Linked DNA regions of Homo sapiens: region 2 is linked to region 1. The links are contacts of gene promoters, found by promoter capture Hi-C in blood cells and fetal thymus (Javierre and others, 2016). All regions are on one chromosome and are shown on one strand. Each heading gives the region's core, a stretch centred on a gene start or on the middle of the fragment in contact. The rest is flanking DNA. Distances are from core to core; before and after follow the strand shown.

What was found. The method cuts DNA at HindIII sites, captures the fragments that hold promoters and counts their contacts. A CHiCAGO score of 5 or more calls a contact.
Region 2: a fragment that was not itself captured here is called in contact with the fragment with the promoter of USP3 in region 1 in 14 of 17 cell types (non-activated CD4 T cells, naive CD8 T cells, endothelial precursors and 11 more); the score reaches 11.0 in non-activated CD4 T cells.

Annotation. Positions count from the first base shown.
Region 1 is chr15:63,501,755-63,505,842 of GRCh38, reverse strand. It overlaps USP3 (ubiquitin specific peptidase 3), which reads right to left and starts at 1,250. Exons shown (of 15, transcript NM_006537.4): 1 at 1,013-1,250. The coding sequence starts at 1,103. RefSeq lists silencers at 439-518, 589-788, 859-968, 1,319-1,658 and enhancers at 1,384-2,176, 2,649-2,698, 2,177-2,970. The HindIII fragment of the contact is 11,052 bases long and covers 1-4,088 here.
Region 2 is chr15:64,069,310-64,073,397 of GRCh38, reverse strand. CIAO2A (cytosolic iron-sulfur assembly component 2A) reads left to right here. Exons shown (of 5, transcript NM_032231.7): 5 at 370-833. The coding sequence ends at 467. Among named protein-coding and RNA genes, the nearest start is that of CIAO2A, 22 kb to the left of the region's middle. The HindIII fragment of the contact is 3,006 bases long and covers 907-3,912 here.

The DNA of each region.
Region 1 (4,088 bases), core at 1-2,500:
TTTCTGAAGTGCACAATTCGAATTGTACGCTATTAATATAACCCAAGATACCAGTGACCATCTCAAAGCTAATAAACAAAGACTAGCGGTGGCACCAGGGCCCTACCAGGAAGTAAGCAAAGCCGTGTGGCCGGTGCGATCCTAAGAAGTCGCTTAGAGCAGACAATGAGAGGGCACTGGGGCTTCCAAGGGGGCCAGCAGGAGTTAAAACGCTTAAGCTACTCAAAAGCCTTATATAAATCTAATAAGTGTTTCACAACACAGGAACTGGGAATCCCAACGCATTTTCGGACAACCCAAAAGGTCTGAAAAACAAACTCGAGCAGTCCCCTCCAAAGCAGCTGTTGGCTCAGCCTCCGAGCTTCTCAGCCCGCAGCCTGTTTTCAAACTTCACCATCCCTGACGGATGAAAGACCCCGACCTCCGCCGCCCGAGCTCCCAGCGCCTCTCGGGGTTTCGAGGTGCCCGAGCCTGCGGAGAAGGGAAAGGAAACCCGGGCCGGGTTCGGCGGAGGAGAGGAGCCCCGCGCGCCCCGCAGCCCAGACAAAGCTGCGCCCGGAGAGCGGCGCTCTTCCCGCCCTGTCTGCGGAGAAGCGCGGCGCGGGCCCCGCCACACGTGCGGCCGCCCCTCGGGGGCCGGACACCCGCCCCACAGGCGACCCCGCAACACGGACGGGCACAGCCCCCGGCCACGGCAGGGCGGGGCAAGGGCGCACGCAGCTGGCCAGGGTCCCCGCCTGCCGCTGCCCCCACGCGCTCGAGGCCTCCGCGGACTCCCGCCCCTCGCGGCCCTCTCCTTCGCTGGCCCGGCCGTCGGGCCTCGGGAAACAAAGGAGCCGCCGCCGCTCCCGCACGCGCCCGCCTCATCGCGTACCCTCCCCAGCCCGCCGGGCCCGGCTCGCCCTCGCCCCTCCCCGAGTCCGCGCGCCGGCCGCCTGCGGCCCCTAGACGGCAGGCCCGGCAGAGCCGCGGCCTCGGGTGCGCTGCGGGGCCGGCCCGTGGCCGCACTCACCGCTGCAGCACCAGGACGACGGGGAGCCGTTGGGGAACTTGGCTGAGTCCGGAGCAATGCAGACGCTGGAGCTCAGGTGTGGACACTCCATGGCCACGAGGAGGGCAGCTGGGAGGACTGCGGCTCCAGGACCCGGCGAGGTGGGGGCGGAGGAACTCCGGAGGCTCCGTCTGGTGTCGCTTCTAGCCGGGCGCTCGGCCGACGGCGGCTGCGTCTCGAGCCCTTGCGTCAAAGAAAGCACGGGCTTCCGGACGCCGGGTTTTCTCGCCCGCCGTCTCCCGGCGCCCCGCTCCGTAGAACGTGTAACTCCGAGATCCGGGTTCTGCAGCCACCCCTAGACTGGAGGCTTCCGCCTTTCCAGGCCGGCCCCTCCCCGCCCCGCCCCCGGGTCCGCCCCCGCCCAGCCCGCGGGGTGGGGTCCCGGCGAGCTCCAGCTGGTGGCGCAGAGTCCGGCTGTGTTCCGAAGTGACTTTCCTAGTCACGCCGCTTCCCCGGCCCCGGGAAGGGTGGGGCGCCGAGCAGGGCACCCCGGGCCGTCCGCGGCGTTTCCTGCGGTGGGCGGAGGATACTGAACCTATGTGGTGCGGACTACTCGGTGGCTTCGTGGTAAAAATCCGGCCGCTCCGCAAAGTGTAAAGAAGAACTTTAAAACCTCTCGGGCAGACAGGCACCGTGGCCCTCATTTTATACACGAAGAAACAAGCTGGGGAGGCCAAGGGCCTGGCCCCGGGGGAGGCGGGCAGCGGGTTTCATGGGTGCCAGGGCAGTCCCGCCCGACTTAGCGTTAGGCTCCTTGCGGCAGGTGCGATCCGTAGCCCTTTCTAGGTTCTGAACACGTGGCGTTAGCCAGCCACCTAGATGCTGCGTGGGTGGGCCCGCAGGGGCGCCCATGAACCCACGTTCAAATCCTGTCACTGTGACTCACCATCTGCGTTACCTCCAGCACATCGTAGGACTTTCAAGCCAGGAAGTTCAAGTGAGATAAACGTAGCCTGGGATTGCTGGGCAAGCTAAACTCCCCATTACCAGGCGATAAGAAGGGAAGGGATCTAGCATTTGTTAGATACCTAAGGTCTCCCAGCCAGGCACTTCCCATACCGCATTTAAGCCTCGCAACACCCTACCAGCTGTTACCATCCCCTTTTTACCGCAGGGGGAAACCGAGTCTGTAACTTGTTGATCTGTATGGAGATTGGATCCCTGACCCTCTGACCTCTTTTTAGTGAGGGATTAGAGAAGAGGGCAAGCCTCAAGGGGCCGCTTGGGCCGGCATACCCTGGATCGAGCCTGCGATCTCACTGGGGCACTTGAGGACGTCCGGGGCTATTACAAATATTGCTTCCAAGTTGGGGCTCCTTGTAAAACCCGGCGAAGGAGCCTCGGGGCCAGAAGGCGAGCAGGAGGAGGGGGAAGACTGATGTGGCAATCCTGCGGCCAGAGCGAGAGGAGGAAGGAAGGTCAGGAAATGATTAACCGGGCCGGGCAGTGGTTAGAGCCGGGCACCTCCCCGCAATGCAGTCCTAGAGCAGCCAGGGACGCCCCGTCAATCACTTCTTACTCCTCCCTACCTCCCACGCCACAAGTCGGCCTCTTCCGCATAGACCTCTGCCTAATGGTATCCACCCACCGGGGGCACCTCTGCTCATCCTTTCCCCAGAAGTATTTCTGGGTCCTCAAAGATCTGTCCTTTTCCAAGTGGTATTTGCTGTTAGAGCAAGCCTCGGCCTGGGATTTTTATGGCAGTGATGCGTTGTGGAAAGTGCGTCTGCCTAGGAAGGCAGGCCGGCATGCTTTCAAATCTTAGCTCTGCTGCCTACTTGACGGCCAGGCTTAGCAAGCGTCTCTAGCCGTTCCAAGCCTTTTCTAGATCTGTAAAACTGGAAGAAGAATACTTGTCTCGCAAGGAACATGTGAGAATTCATGAAAATTGCCACCACATACTAGGTGGCCAATAAATTATAACTTTGTATTTGTTTTTACTGACACTAGATGAGAGCTGCTTCCCTGGGAAGCGGGAGGAGGAGAAACAATAATATCTGCCCTTGGCTCAAGTTCTTCCACCCATCTCTCCATGTCAACCTATTTGTCTTTAAGGCCTTGCTCCACCAACCTTCTGTTTCCTCCGGACACCCACCCCCACTTAGCATCCATAACCCCTTGTTCGGCCCTGGAGCATGACCTCACTCAGGCCATGCTTCATACTGGTATGTAATATTTCTTCACCCTCTCAGAGACTCCGTTTCCTAATCCCCTAGACTTCAGTTTAAACATCACTTCCTGAGGGAGTCTTTCCCGACCCTTTCCCACCCGCAGGGTACCTCCCAGTGTGTGATGTCCTTGTCTGCCCCAACACCGGCTTTTAAAAACACTTAAAACAAAAAACAAAACAAAAAAAAAAACAGTGTCTCCTATATTGCCCAGGCTGGTCTCGAAATCCTGGGCTCAAGAGATCCTCCCGCCTAGGCCTCCCAAAGTGCTAGGATTACGGGCATGAGTCACCGCGCCCGGCCTAAAAACACTCTTCATGCGTGTAATTATTTGTTTAATGTCTCTCTTCCTCTTGTTTGTCCATAAGGTAGCAAACAAGTCTGTCTGGTTTTCTGCTTTATTTCTAACATGCAATGTAGAACATGGAGGATGTCTGATAAGTAAGTGAATACATGACATGAACGGGTGAGTGTGCGGTATGTTAGCCATGTCTACCATGGGCAAGAGCCTAGCAGGTGGCCCAATATTTGCCAATATTTGACCCCTAGAGATGATCTCTAAATTTCCTTTCAGTTCTAGCTTTATGATTTTAACGGAATCAGGAATGTGAAAGTGCTTTGTAAGGTGTAAGCTATTTTAAGGGAAAAAAAAGTTTCCATTAGTGACTTCTCTCCCCAGCTAGAATAAAAACCCTTGGGAGCAGGGGCCCTAATTTAGTCCCGATTGTGATAGTCCCCAGAGGGCAAGCTCTATCAGGCAGTCCAGAGAAGTTGGGCAAAATCAGAGAGGCCCTCCTGGGGCGTTTGCTAGATTTCCCTAAAATAGTGAACTTTCCTGTGTCTTTGAAAGTTTCCATAATAAGAAAAGA
Region 2 (4,088 bases), core at 1,160-3,659, 570 kb before region 1:
CATAATTACTTTAGAACACTTAAGACTTTTACCATGTTAAATAACCCTGTAGTTTAAAATATAGGCTTATGGGGGAAAAAATAGCAATTTTCAAAATTATATTTACTCTGAATGTAACTGTATAAAAATATGTGTATGGACAAAGACTGGAAAGAAAAAAATAGATGTGGTTAAGTAGTAGAATTCTAGTAGATATTTTTCTCTTAAGTCTGCCTTCTAGATGGGAAATTACATTATGAGTAATTAGCCAAAAACAGGTTTAAGTTCTCAAGGAGTTAAAGTTTTTGTTTCAGCAGGCTAATAAAAATACTGTCTGGTGCTGTATATTGACACAGTTCTTCTGCTAACTTTTGTCTGTGTATTTTTCAGTCAATAAGCAGATAAATGACAAAGAGCGAGTGGCAGCTGCAATGGAAAACCCCAACTTACGGGAAATTGTGGAACAGTGTGTCCTTGAACCTGACTGATAGCTGTTTTAAGAGCCACTGGCCTGTAATTGTTTGATATATTTGTTTAAACTCTTTGTATAATGTCAGAGACTCATGTTTAATACATAGGTGATTTGTACCTCAGAGTATTTTTTAAAGGATTCTTTCCAAGCGAGATTTAATTATAAGGTAGTACCTAATTTGTTCAATGTATAACATTCTCAGGATTTGTAACACTTAAATGATCAGACAGAATAATATTTTCTAGTTATTATGTGCAAGATGAGTTGCTATTTTTCTGATGCTCATTCTGATACAACTATTTTTCGTGTCAAATATCTACTGTGCCCAAATGTACTCAATTTAAATCATTACTCTGTAAAATAAATAAGCAGATGATTCTTATAATGACTCACTGTTTTTATTGAATTGTAAATTCCAGTGTAAATGTCAACTCCTAAAGGATATCTTCAAAGCTTTATTTTTGCTGATTATTTTGTAGAATCAGAGATCTGAGAACCAAAAGGAACCCTTAAGATTGGGCCTTCCTTCCTTCCAAGGAGAGTCCTGGACCCTTTCATAGATAAGGAACAAATGTGGAGAAGGCTAGATGGCATACACAATTTTGAAGATCAAGAAGTCCACCAAAGAAGTTTTGATTAAACCAACCTAAATGTATGGTCCGCACTTTATCTGTCCTTCATTTGGTTTGTTTTAGGGGTTAATGGTCATGTGAAGTATAGTAGCCTCCAACATGGCCCCCAAGATCCTCACTTCCTGGTATTCATGCCCTTGTATAGTTAACTTCCATATTGAATTGGAGCTGATGGGTGTGGCTAATAAAGAATGGCAGAGTGACAATGGGTGACTTCTGAGGCTAGATCATAAAAGGTATTGCTGTTTTCACCTTAGGCTCTTGGATTGCTTATTCTGTAGGAATCCAGCTGCTATGTCACGAGAACTCAAGCCACCCTGTGGAGAATTCCACACGGAGTGCAGCTGAGGCCTCCCAACAACAACCAGCAGCAATTTGCAAACCATGTGAGTGAACTCCTGATGCAGAACTGCCTAGCTCCCAAAGTCTGGACCCAGGCACTGTCTTGGGTGCCAAGGACACAAAGATACATCAGCCATTGTCTGTCCTCCTGGAGTTCATACTTATTAGCCTGGACCTTCAGCTTCTCTCTGCTCCAGGCAGTGAGTGATTCGGACTCAGTTTTATCTACTGCCTGAGCTCGTCCTGGCCAAGTAGAAACAGAAGCCGGGCAGCAGGTCCAAAGACAAAACCATGCCTTAGGGACTGTCTGGTGAGGACACTACTGACATGCAACTCCAAGTGGATCATTGCTACAGGAGTCACCTGAACTGCTGGCCCTGCTGCTCCTGGAAGCTAGATGTGACTTCTGTTGTCTCCGCTACTGCCAGAGTGATTTCTCATTTTTGTGTGACTCACTCCAGCTTCCTAGTCCTAGCTGAGATCTCTAGTCGGCTGATCTCAAGTCACATGTCCATGTCCTGGCTGCCAAGAAGGCGGGAGAAAAGAAAATCTGACCTTTGGTGTGGGGAGGTGGACTCTGTCCCCCCAGCAAGACTCACATGGTGGGAATTCTATAGTAGAGTGAGAGGGGTCAAAAAACTAACATCTACTGCATTAATTATATTAGAACATGAATTTAAACTTTATTAATCATAATGGTATCTACATAGAAGTGAAAAATAGAGGTACATATATAGTCAGAAGTAGTGTTATCTGGTCCATGTTTGGCAAGGGTTAGGAAACGTTTTTGGAAAAGGGCCACATAGGCAATATTTTAGGCTTTTCAAGCCATATGCTCTGTTGTAACTATTCAACTCTGCCCTTGTAGCACAAAAGCAGCTGATAGTCTGTAAACAAATAAGCATGATTGCACTCCAAGAAAACTTTATGGACACAAATTTGAATTTCATATAATTTTCATGTGTCATGAATTAATATTTTCCTTTTTAATTTTTTCAACCGTTTAAAAATATAAAAACCATCTTAGCTTGTGGGTTGTACAAAATTCCAGCATTGGGCTGGATTTGGCCTGTGTGCCATTAGCAAACTCCTGATTTACAAGAATGATTATCCTTTCTGAAAAGTCAGACCAATTGGAAAATCAGATAAAAGATGTGGAATGGGCCCTCTCCCTAGGGAGAAAAAGGCACTCACATGAAACTGCATGTGACTCCAGGACATTCACAGACTTGCTAAGGAGCCAGTGGACCCCGGGTTAATAACTCTGCTTTACAAGTAATGCTAGCTGAGCACTGGGCTCCCCCCTCCTTTAATAACCCCCCAGAGCCCTGAGGGTTCACAACTTTGGGAGTATAGGGGCAGAAGGTGTGATACCTTTCCTCACCCATCATAAAGGTCATGGCCAACACCCCCGTGACAAAAGACAGGGTAACAAGAGAAAAGCATAACAAATGTGGTCAATCCAAGTTTTATGTGACACAGCAGGCTTCAGATAGGAAGAATCCAAAGACCCAGGGAAAACTGTCTTATTTTTCTGCTTAGGTTTGACGAAGAGTGGACAATTGTGTAGAAATGTGATTGGACAAAAAGTGCGATCTAATGGTAATGGACTAAGTGGGGAAACCCAGCAAGGACTATCTCTTCAGATTCTTCTTGGCCTTTCTGTGTAGCATTCCTTCCTCCTGGGTATGGGGCAGTCTTATGACCTACTGTTAGATAAGGCAGGTCAGAGAATTTCTTTATGGCCAGCTCATGCACAGAAAGGCGGGGGAAAGTTAGAGTAATATTTCTAGGTTTTGTGGTTTGCTTTTTGTTGTTGTTACTGTTTTTGTTTTTGAGATGGTCTTGCTCTGTTGCCCAGGCTGGAGTGCAGTGGCACAATCATGGCTCACTGCAGCCTCAACCTCTCAGGCTCAAGTGATCCTCCCACCCCAACTTCCCAAGTAGCTGGGACCACAGGTGCATACCACCATGCCCAGCTAAATTTTTTTTTGTATTTTTTTGTAGAGATGGGACTTTGCCATGTTTCCCAGACTGGTATGGCTTGCTTTGAAAAGAGGTTCTGGTTTCTATTTCCTCCCTTGGGGAAGACAGATTCTGTTTTCTATGACTCCCTTTGGAGGAGGAAGGGGCAGGAGACAGCAGGGCAGGATATGGTCAGAGAGAGTCTTTGCTTTTGAGGCTGCTTCTGAGGCTTTCTATTCTTCTTTAATTCACAGCACACCAAGGAGCCATATTTTGGGTTATTGCTTTCTGAGCCCCAGTAGGAGCCACTACCTTCTTGTTTTTGCTTTTGAGACAGGGTCGCTCTCTGTCGCCCCTGCTGGAGTGAAAAGGCACCATCAGGGCTCACTGCAGCCTCAAACTACTGGGCTCAAGCAATTGTCCCACCTCAGCCTCCCAAGAAGCTGGGACTACAGATGAGAGCTACCACGCTCAACTAATTATTTATCCACTGCTTTCTTAGACCGTTACAAATAAGAAGCTTATGGCCGGGCGTGGTGGCTTAGGTTGGGTGCAGCGGCTCACGCCTGTAATCCAAGCACTCTGGGAGCCGAGGCGGGTGGATCACGAGGTCAGGAGTTCAAGACCAGCCTGGCCAAGATGGTGAAACCCCATCTCTACTAAAAATACAAAAATTAGCTGGACATGGTGTCACGTGC